2 separate regions of the Homo sapiens genome follow, and region 2 is linked to region 1. The links are contacts of gene promoters, found by promoter capture Hi-C in human tissues and cell types (Jung and others, 2019). All regions are on one chromosome and are shown on one strand. Each heading gives the region's core, a stretch centred on a gene start or on the middle of the fragment in contact. The rest is flanking DNA. Distances are from core to core; before and after follow the strand shown.

The links. Contacts are between HindIII fragments. The study calls those that stand out against the background at their distance.
Region 2: the fragment with the promoter of GABRA5 here is called in contact with the fragment with the promoter of ATP10A in region 1 in 2 of the 25 tissues and cell types used here (spleen and thymus).

The regions. Positions count from the first base shown.
Region 1 is chr15:25,861,681-25,866,046 of GRCh38, reverse strand. ATP10A (ATPase phospholipid transporting 10A (putative)) reads left to right here and starts at 2,720. Exons shown (of 21, transcript NM_024490.4): 1 at 2,720-3,399. The coding sequence starts at 2,951. ATP10A-DT (ATP10A divergent transcript) reads right to left here and starts at 777. Exons shown (of 2, transcript NR_183988.1): 1 at 139-777. The HindIII fragment of the contact is 9,757 bases long and covers 1-4,366 here.
Region 2 is chr15:26,865,004-26,869,369 of GRCh38, reverse strand. GABRA5 (gamma-aminobutyric acid type A receptor subunit alpha5) reads right to left here and starts at 2,308. Exons shown (of 11, transcript NM_000810.4): 1 at 2,259-2,308; 2 at 577-641; 3 at 36-195. The coding sequence starts at 121. The HindIII fragment of the contact is 20,920 bases long and covers 1-4,366 here.

The DNA of each region.
Region 1 (4,366 bases), core at 1,471-3,970:
TTGGACCGCCCAATTGACAGGAGCAAGAGCAGGATCCCACCCCTCCCAGCCCTGGTTTCAGGTGTCCCTTCATTTTCTGAGCCATCTTTGTTGGGATTCCCACGTGAGGACTTAGTGTTCCGGGGAGCAGAAACTTACTGTGTTTCCCAGGTGTCCCCATTGCCTAAAGCAGAAGCTGTGGGGTTGAAGGTTTTAGAATGAGTGTGAGGCAGAAGCCCCACCTGTTTCTTAAACACATTGAGATTTCTCCTTCTTTGGGACCTTTTGACAGAGCTGCCCCCTCTGTCTGGAAGCCTCTTCCACCTGATCTTGTCCCATTCAGGTTTCAACTCCAGTGCCTCTCTTCGAAAAGGCCATCCCTCATCCCTTCCAAAGCCCTCCGTGGGCTCTCATGGTTTTTCGTTCAGTTGCTGCAGCTCCATGACAACATCTTGTCCTCTCTAGCTCTCCGATGAATTCCTGTGCCTGGAACATTGCCGGGCATACAGCAGGGGATGAGTAAGTATTTGCCGAACAAGGACACTTACAGTGGTTCTCATGGCCTATAGCAGGCCCTTGTTAGAGCCCTGTGGTGCAGATGGCCAACCCAGAGTTGACCAGACCACATCAGAGCCTCATCCTCGCCCCAGCAGGCCAGGGTCTCAGAGTCCAGCTGGCAGAAGACACCTGAGCTCAAAACCCCTCCACGATTCCCCAGATCACACAGCTTGGAGACCTTTCCAGAGGTGAGCTGAGCTAGGCCTTCCTGGAAATCCTGACTTTGCACTGGGGAAGAGCAGGTGGAAAAAGATTCCAGACTTGAGGAGCATTGTGACTCACAGAATCTTGGAACCTTAGAGCGGAATGTGGATGGGATGAGTAAGGACTGTTCTGAGAAGGATAAGGAGACCTCTCACCTTGGGGCTGGGCCTGAACCAGGGAGGGGCTGAAGAAAATCAGCAAGCTGGTTCCCCTCAGGGCCTCAAGGGACCTCTGCCTGAGGAATCAGCATTTGGCTTTGTAAGCACCAGGAGTACTCCTGGAAGCTCCAGGGTAAGCAAATGGAATGAGGCGGTAATTACTTTGGCAACAGTGTGGACTGGCTGAAGCTGGGAGTCTGGTAGGCGCGGACACCCCTGGAGACTTTGGGCGAAGGGTCCACGGGGATGCCTGTGAAGACAGGAGGCCGAAGTGTAGGGAGGCCGAAGGCCTCGGGGGTCACCAGGTGGGCTGGTAGAGGAAAACACGGAGCCATGGGATGTGAGGCCTCAAGACTGCAGGCGCTGTGGGCCTTCATTTGCAGTTGATGCTCCGTTTGGGTTTCTGCTGGTTGACTGTGAGACCTGACTCCTTTCCCCAACAATGCAGACTTCAGCCAAACCTTTCCCTGATCTGGGCCTCTACATGTCAAAAGCCCACCCCTGTGACTGGGGGATGGGATTATTTTCTTCACACCTGTCACCACTCTACCTTCTAACACTGGGTTCTGGGCAACATTGTGGATGGTGGCAAAACTGGGCAGAGATGTAAGAATGTCATAACTGGAGCCGGGTAAGCCAGGGTGCTGGAGGGGAGGGCCTCCCCAAGCCAGGGTCCTGGCGAAGACGTGATTTGAGTCCATCCAGGGCAGTGCCTTGTTAGCAGGCACCCCCAGGAAGAGCCTGGGGCCACGGCCAACCGCCCAGCCACGGCCTCCTGGGCAAGAAATAACTGCTTCTCATCTCTGTACTTCTTGAGTGGGAGGCAAACAGTCACAGCCATGAAACATCTGTGGGGTCTCACTGCGGACGTGGGGGACTCCCAGCTCCTTTTTCCATGCCGTGCTTATTCTCCCACCCCTTCTCGGATGCCCCATGATGTGGAGGGGAGCCCTTCGCCCCACACTTCTGGGACACCCTCCTGACGCTCCCCTCTCCTCCCCACAACCATCCTCGCCTCCCCACAACCATCCTCGCCTCCCCCGCCGTCCGGGCCATGACAGCCACCTCAGAGCTACAGCGCACAAGGAGCGTTTCGGTCCTCATGATTTCCCAGGGAGGGAAACAGACACTCAAATACCTGCAAACCAAATTCTGTCTTTGCTATAGCGATATATTTCTCCTTTCCATGAAGAAAGAACAGAAAAAAGAAAAAGAATTTATTTAGGAGAGGAAGGAAAGGCAGTAATGATGATGGTGGAAAGGAAACGGTCTAGTTCGCCCAACAACGGAATCTGAAAGTGGTGGGGGCTGGGAAGTGGGGTAGGAAAGAAGTTCTTAGAGGCAACGCGGAATCGCCCTTCCCAGGGCTCCCCAGGAGCAGAGGTCCTGCGTAAAAAAGACTTAAAAATTGGAGCACTGGATGCCATGGATCCTTTGGATTTTGATTCCAGTTGATCCCTGGAGTAAGGTCCTAACCGGGGTCTCCCGAGGTCGTTTCGCCGTCCAGGATGGAGCAGGTCTGGCCCCTGGAAGGGCGCGCGGGCTGCTTGGGGACGGGGGCGCCTTTTCTCGCGCTTCGCGGTTTCCTCTCTCCTACTGCAGGCAGCGCGCGTTTGCAGCGTTTTGGGACCGAACTGATGCTTCTGGGAAACGAAACTAAACCTCTCTGAAGTTTCCAGCTCGGGCTTTTTTTGTTTCCCGCTATCCGGCGTGGCCCAGTCCGGGCGCGGAACGAGGGCGGGGCCGTGGCCACCGCGGCGGAAACGACCCGGGCCGGGGGCGGGCGGCGAGGACAAGGGGGCTCTGTGCGGCACCCGCCCAGCTTGCGCCCTGGGGACTGCGGCCGGGCGGCGGGGCTGGACGGGAGTGGACGGGGCTGGGCGCGGGCTGGGCGCGCTGGGCCGGCCAGGCGGCGCGCTGACCGCGGTCTCCGTGCGTCCCGCAGGCGGGGAGCTCGCACCGCCGCGCCCGGGCCGCGAGTGATGATAACCTAAGAGGCCGGCGCGGGCGGGCGTGAGCGGCGGAGGAGCCGGGCGCGGCGACACGCGGCCATGGAGCGGGAGCCGGCGGGGACCGAGGAGCCCGGGCCTCCGGGACGGCGGAGGCGCCGAGAGGGCAGGACGCGCACGGTGCGCTCCAACCTGCTGCCGCCCCCGGGCGCCGAGGACCCTGCGGCTGGCGCGGCCAAGGGCGAGCGGCGACGGCGGCGCGGGTGTGCCCAGCACCTGGCCGACAACCGGCTCAAGACTACCAAGTACACGCTGCTGTCCTTCCTGCCCAAGAACCTGTTCGAGCAGTTCCACCGCCCGGCCAACGTGTACTTTGTCTTCATCGCGCTGCTCAACTTCGTGCCGGCGGTGAACGCCTTCCAGCCCGGCCTGGCACTGGCGCCGGTGCTCTTCATCCTGGCCATCACGGCCTTCAGGGACCTGTGGGAGGACTACAGCCGCCACCGCTCCGACCACAAGATCAACCACCTGGGCTGCCTGGTCTTCAGCAGGTGAGTTGGGCGGGCGGGCGAGCGAGCGCGCGGTGGCGCAGGGCAGGGCGCCCCGGGAACTTGGTGTTGGGCACAGTGATTGGCAGGGGCTGGGTGCTTAGAAGGCAGCTCCACTCAGGGTGGAGGGCCCGGCTGCGCGGGACCCGGTGCCGACCGAAGCCACAGCGCCGCCAAGGCCTCTCTGTGCCTCCGCCGCAGCTAAAGGGGCGCCCTGGATGCGGGGACGCGTGGGGATCCCCTGTCACTCCGTGTCGGGGCCAGAATGATCCCAAGGCTAGAAACCGACGGCCGCTGGACATCCTCATCCACAGCCGCTCCCACCTGAAGTGAAAGGCAGGAAAAGCCAGCCTGGCCCCCTGGCCTGAAGTCCCTGCCTCAGTCTTCGGCCAGGCACAGTGGTCTCTGAACAGCCGGCACAGGACAGTAAAGCTCAGTCTGCTAACAGCTCGGCTCAGGACAGCAGCAAAGTGAAACTGCCGCCAAGTGCTGATATGTCTGGCACGGCCCAGGTACCAGGGCAGGGGAAATAACAGCAGTGTCCATCCTCCACTGTGAGCCATGAGCCGCGAGCCAGGCACCGCCCGGTAGCTGCCTGCCTAATTTTCTTCATCTTAACCTGCTTCCTGGGGGAAAGAGGCTGTGGGGTGTTTGTGAGCCCTGCCACGGGCAGTACCAGGGGTGACCCTGCGATGGACCACTCCTGCTCTTTTTCCCTCCCTGAGTTTTAGAGTCTCCGGCGGACCTGTCCAGAGGCCTGCGGCCTTTTCATCCTTTATGCTCTCCACCCCAGGAGAGCCCCTTGGTAGATCCATCTTGGAGCTGTGTCCAGCAGCCTGGACCACCTCAAGGCCCTGTCCCTGAGAAAGGTGGGTCGTCTTAGCTTTCCTCCAAAGCTCAGCCCATCGTTACCTCCTGCCTCACCTTGCTTGACCCCGGAACAGGGACTGAGATGGGCTTCTGAATAGAA
Region 2 (4,366 bases), core at 1,059-3,558, 1.0 Mb before region 1:
AACATCATAAAATAAAAGCACAGATGGTAACTTACCCAAAGTGACTGGATAAGTTCATGGAAATACAAAAGAGAAGGAGGTTTTTGATCATGATAAAACCAGAGAACATTCCATTGTCCATTCCCAATAAGAATAGTAGTTGAAGCAGGTGAATATGGAGGAATAACTCTTCCCTTCTCCAGCTTGTTCTTGAAGCTGAAAAGCACACAAAGCGGGGAAGCACGTGAACATCAATGCTGTTGTGTCACAGTTCCTGGAATCAAATCACACTGCTATCACAACAATTTGCAAAGAAAGGAGCCCGCTGTCCTTCCCCAGGACAGCTGCACACCAGGTATTTTCCATCACCCTCACTGGGCAGTAAGTTGGAGCATAAAAATAAGTAACAAGAGGCTTATTTTTACTTCTACTCAGGGTGCAGAATCACCCTAATTCGTTGTTTTCCACTCAAATACTCTGTTTTGTTTTTTAGCATGTTATCAAATAAACCATTAGTCCAATTATTAAAATAAACGCTGTAGTTATCTGAGCGACTGTATTTTGTATCCGTCAAATCCACAAGTGTAGTAATTTTACCTTTCTGAAATATCTGCCACGCCACGCGTTCAAAGCCAGCAAGCTACTCCTCTCTCTGCAAGGCACTGAGAAAGTACGTGGAAAGAAGTGGGGAAAAGCACATTTAAGAAACAGGTTTTCTGCAGGATCACAATACTGTGACAACTGCCTATAAAAGAGTGTGGCTACTTTCCCGGCATTCGGTCCCCGTGACTACATAACTTAAGCACTGCATCTGTGGAAGTCTCTCCACTCAATGCTGGACCCTAATTAATGTATTTGAGATCCAGGCAGACATTGTCCCTGGGCTCAACGACTAACCTTCCTGAAAACACGCATTTCTCAGTATGCGCATAACGCAAATAGGTGCTCACAGGCATCCGAACAGTATGCTTCGAAAAGAAGCATTTTCCCAAGAAGCCCCCCCAACCCCCATCCCCCGCAAACTCCGGAATTGGGAGACACAACAGGTACTTCCACCTCGGAAGCGAAGGCCTTCTGCGACTCCTGCCAAGAAGGGCAGGGTGCCATGCGGTGGTCGCCTGGGCGCGTCCGGGGGGCTCGTCGCGGGGCCCGGGCCAGAGCCAGGCGGCGAGCACGCGGCGCTGCATGCGGGAAACCCGGGCGGCGCCTCCCGCCGCCCCTCAGCCCCGAGCCAGGGACCCCCAGGAGAGGCTGCGCTCCCACGACCCTCCGGACCCCCACAGAGGCTCACCAGGGCCGGCGCGCCAGGGCAGGTGGGCGCGGGGGCTGCACTGCGGAGCCGCAGCCTGGGTCGCCCTGGCACCCGCGGTCGCCACCCGCGCGGTCCGCAGCGGCACGCCGAGGGTCTCCAGCTCCCCGGCCCTCCCCGGCTCGCTCCCGGCTTTCGCAGACTTCCCCTGCTCCTGCCCCGGGTACGAGCCAAGCGCTCCGCCAGGCAGCGCCTTCCTCCTGGGCTGGGAGCGCGCGGTGCAGCAGCGACTCCAAGTCCCCTGGCCTCGAGCAGCCCGCGCGACACGCGCGCGACACCCCCGCGGGGTCCGAGTCCACCCCGCGAGCAGCGCCGGGACGCCGCGCGCCTCAGAGCCCCGGGGCTGACGCTGGCTTTCCAGGTGGGCGATCTCACCCCTCCGGCTCCCGTGATGGTGGCAACGGGTGTCCCCCACCCCCAACCGGTCACCGCGCCCTGGTGCCCCGTCCGGCAGGGATGAGCCGCCCGGACCCCGCTCTCTCCCGCGCCCGGCTTCAGCCCCGCAGTCGCCAGGGTAAAGTTTGCGCTCTGGCCTGGCTGCGCGCCCCGCCTGCTCTGCACCTCTCCTCCCCGGCCACGCAGCCTGCCGCTCAGGCGCCCCGAGGAGAAGGGTGCGGACCGAGCCGGGGCGGCCGGTCCTCTTCCCCGCTCGCGTCCTCTTACCCCACTGCCCCGGCCCAGCGCGCCCAGGGCTCACCCTGCGCGCCGGCCCCGGGAGGCGAGCCGTCGGTGAGGATGCATCCTCCTTCTCCTCCGCCTGCTCTCGCCCGGCTGGCAGGCGCGGAAGGCCGGTGCGGCGTCACCGCCCCATGCTGCCAGCGCGAACTTCCCCGGCACTCCCGGCGGAGCGGCTCTTGCGCCCCGCGCTCCCGCCGCCGCCCTGCAGCTCCGCTCCGCGCCGCGCCCCGGGCCGCGCGCCGCCCGCCGCAGAGCCCCCCAGCGCCCCCGGCGCACTCGCGCCCGCTCTCACCTCGCCCGAGCGCCACATGTCGTCTCTGGGCTGGAGGATCGGCCCTCTGCAGAGGTGCTCCGGTAGAGGCCGCCAGACGCTCAGCAAATGCGCCCTTGGCCGAGCTGGGCGGAGGGGGAGGGCGCAGGGCCCCCGGCTCGGCCTGCAAGGGGAGAGGCCCTGTTCTGCTGAAGTTTCTCCAGGGCCCTCAACAGCATCTTCGGCGCCTCGTGTAGTCACCACCGCCCGCTTGTAGAGCAGGGATGGGAGGGCAGTGTCAGCAGTCGGGTGATAGAGGCCTGGACTCCGACAGCTTTGCTCCCTAGAGCCGGCCCCAACGCCTCCCTGCCCAGGCCTGGGTCCTTCCCGGGTGCTCCATGGCACCCCTTACATGCGCATCTCTTAGGCGCTTCTGAAAGAAGCTGGCCTGTGGACATTCTTTTCATCTCACTCATAGACAGGAATGCATAACTACGGGAGGGAAAGCCAGGGTCACATTGGACTCGATTAGAATGAAATCCTTACCTAACGCAGTGTATATCTGGGGGTTTTCTGAAGTTCCATTTCTTGACAACAAGCCGCAGTGGCAAACGGGAAAGGGCCAGGAGCCCTGGGGGCTGCAGGTCGGAGAGCGCCTCTGGGGTGACGGGGCGGGATCTCCCCAGCAGGGCTTCCGAGCCACGTCGGGTCACTGCCTCATTAGCCACGTACATGGGGTCTTACTATGGTCATTACGTCGGTGTGTCGTCCGTCCTAGTGGTGCAGTTCCTGGGAGGTGAGGGTGGCATTAATGACAACTGCGCGGCAGCAGGGCCCCTTCAAACAACACAAGTAAGAGCGCATCGTCTTGGGTTTGCCAGGTCTTGCTTCCTCAGGAGGTGGGGGACTCTCGACTATAACACCCAGTGGAAAACGTTCAAGACTCAAAGGAAAGCCACTGAAAACGTGATGGGGAGGTTTACTTACACCATTGTCCCATTCCTTTTGTGAAACTGCATTATTCATAATCTCTTTTAACAGAATAATGGTAAGTAAAGGCAAATTCCTAACTCCCCTCCAGGAAAGATCTTTGACCTTCCAGTGTAGGAAGCCTCTCATTTTTCCAGTTATCTCTAATACAGTGTATTCCAAATCTAAGTTACCTGTTAATACTTCTGCACATTCCAGAAATTCTGAAATTTTCTGAAAAACAAAACTTGTAAATCTATTCCAGGAATAGGACATAAATATACATAAATGTGCAAATATACAGGAAGTGTTTCTCTGAATATACATTTAGCCACACTATTAAATAACTGTTTCCAGTGGTTCTTCAGGAAATATGAATGAAATAAGATGCTAATTTGAATTTTCTAATTCTAAAATGGATCACTGAACGTATGCATTTCTTCATTTTCTAATTTCCCAAAAGATGTACCACTAGGGTGAAATTCCTTGGGAGACATTAAATTTTAAAAAGTTAACAACATGGTTTTATGATCAGCCTAATATAATTTTCACCTATTAGGTGTTGGAATTCTAACACCTAATACCAGCGACAGCTGCTCTTCTCTCAGGATTAAACAGCATAATGCAAATCAAAGAGTTGGAAGAATTGGTAAATTTTAAACTTCACAGCTTGTCACACAAAGTCATTCGGTGTGAGTTTGCAAAAATAAATGTATATAAACAAGGGATGATTTTTGTATTAGCGAGGGTTATAGACATTAATTCTTAATAATAAAAGAAATGTCAGCTGTAAGGAAATATGTTCTTTTGATGGATTATGTTTAAAACTTCCACTTTTTTTGGTACACTTTCTATCAGCTTTATGTCCACACAACACATATTATTGAATATATAAAAATCATTTTAAGTTAGAGTCATTCTTTAACATTGTATTTCAGCATGTTGCTTAAATTCTTTTCTCTTCCCTGTAATGAAACGGTATGCCACTCTCTCTCCTCCTAGTGTTTATGTAACATAACATAGCCTCACTTTAGATGGACTGCCCTGAGGGGACAGTGAAATCGTAAGGCCCATCAGAACCTTACAGAAACTCACATTGCTAGAAGAGTGCTTACTACCATTTCAATGATTTTTGTTTTACTATAGAATTCTGTATTTGTGCTGAGAAATAATAGGCTATC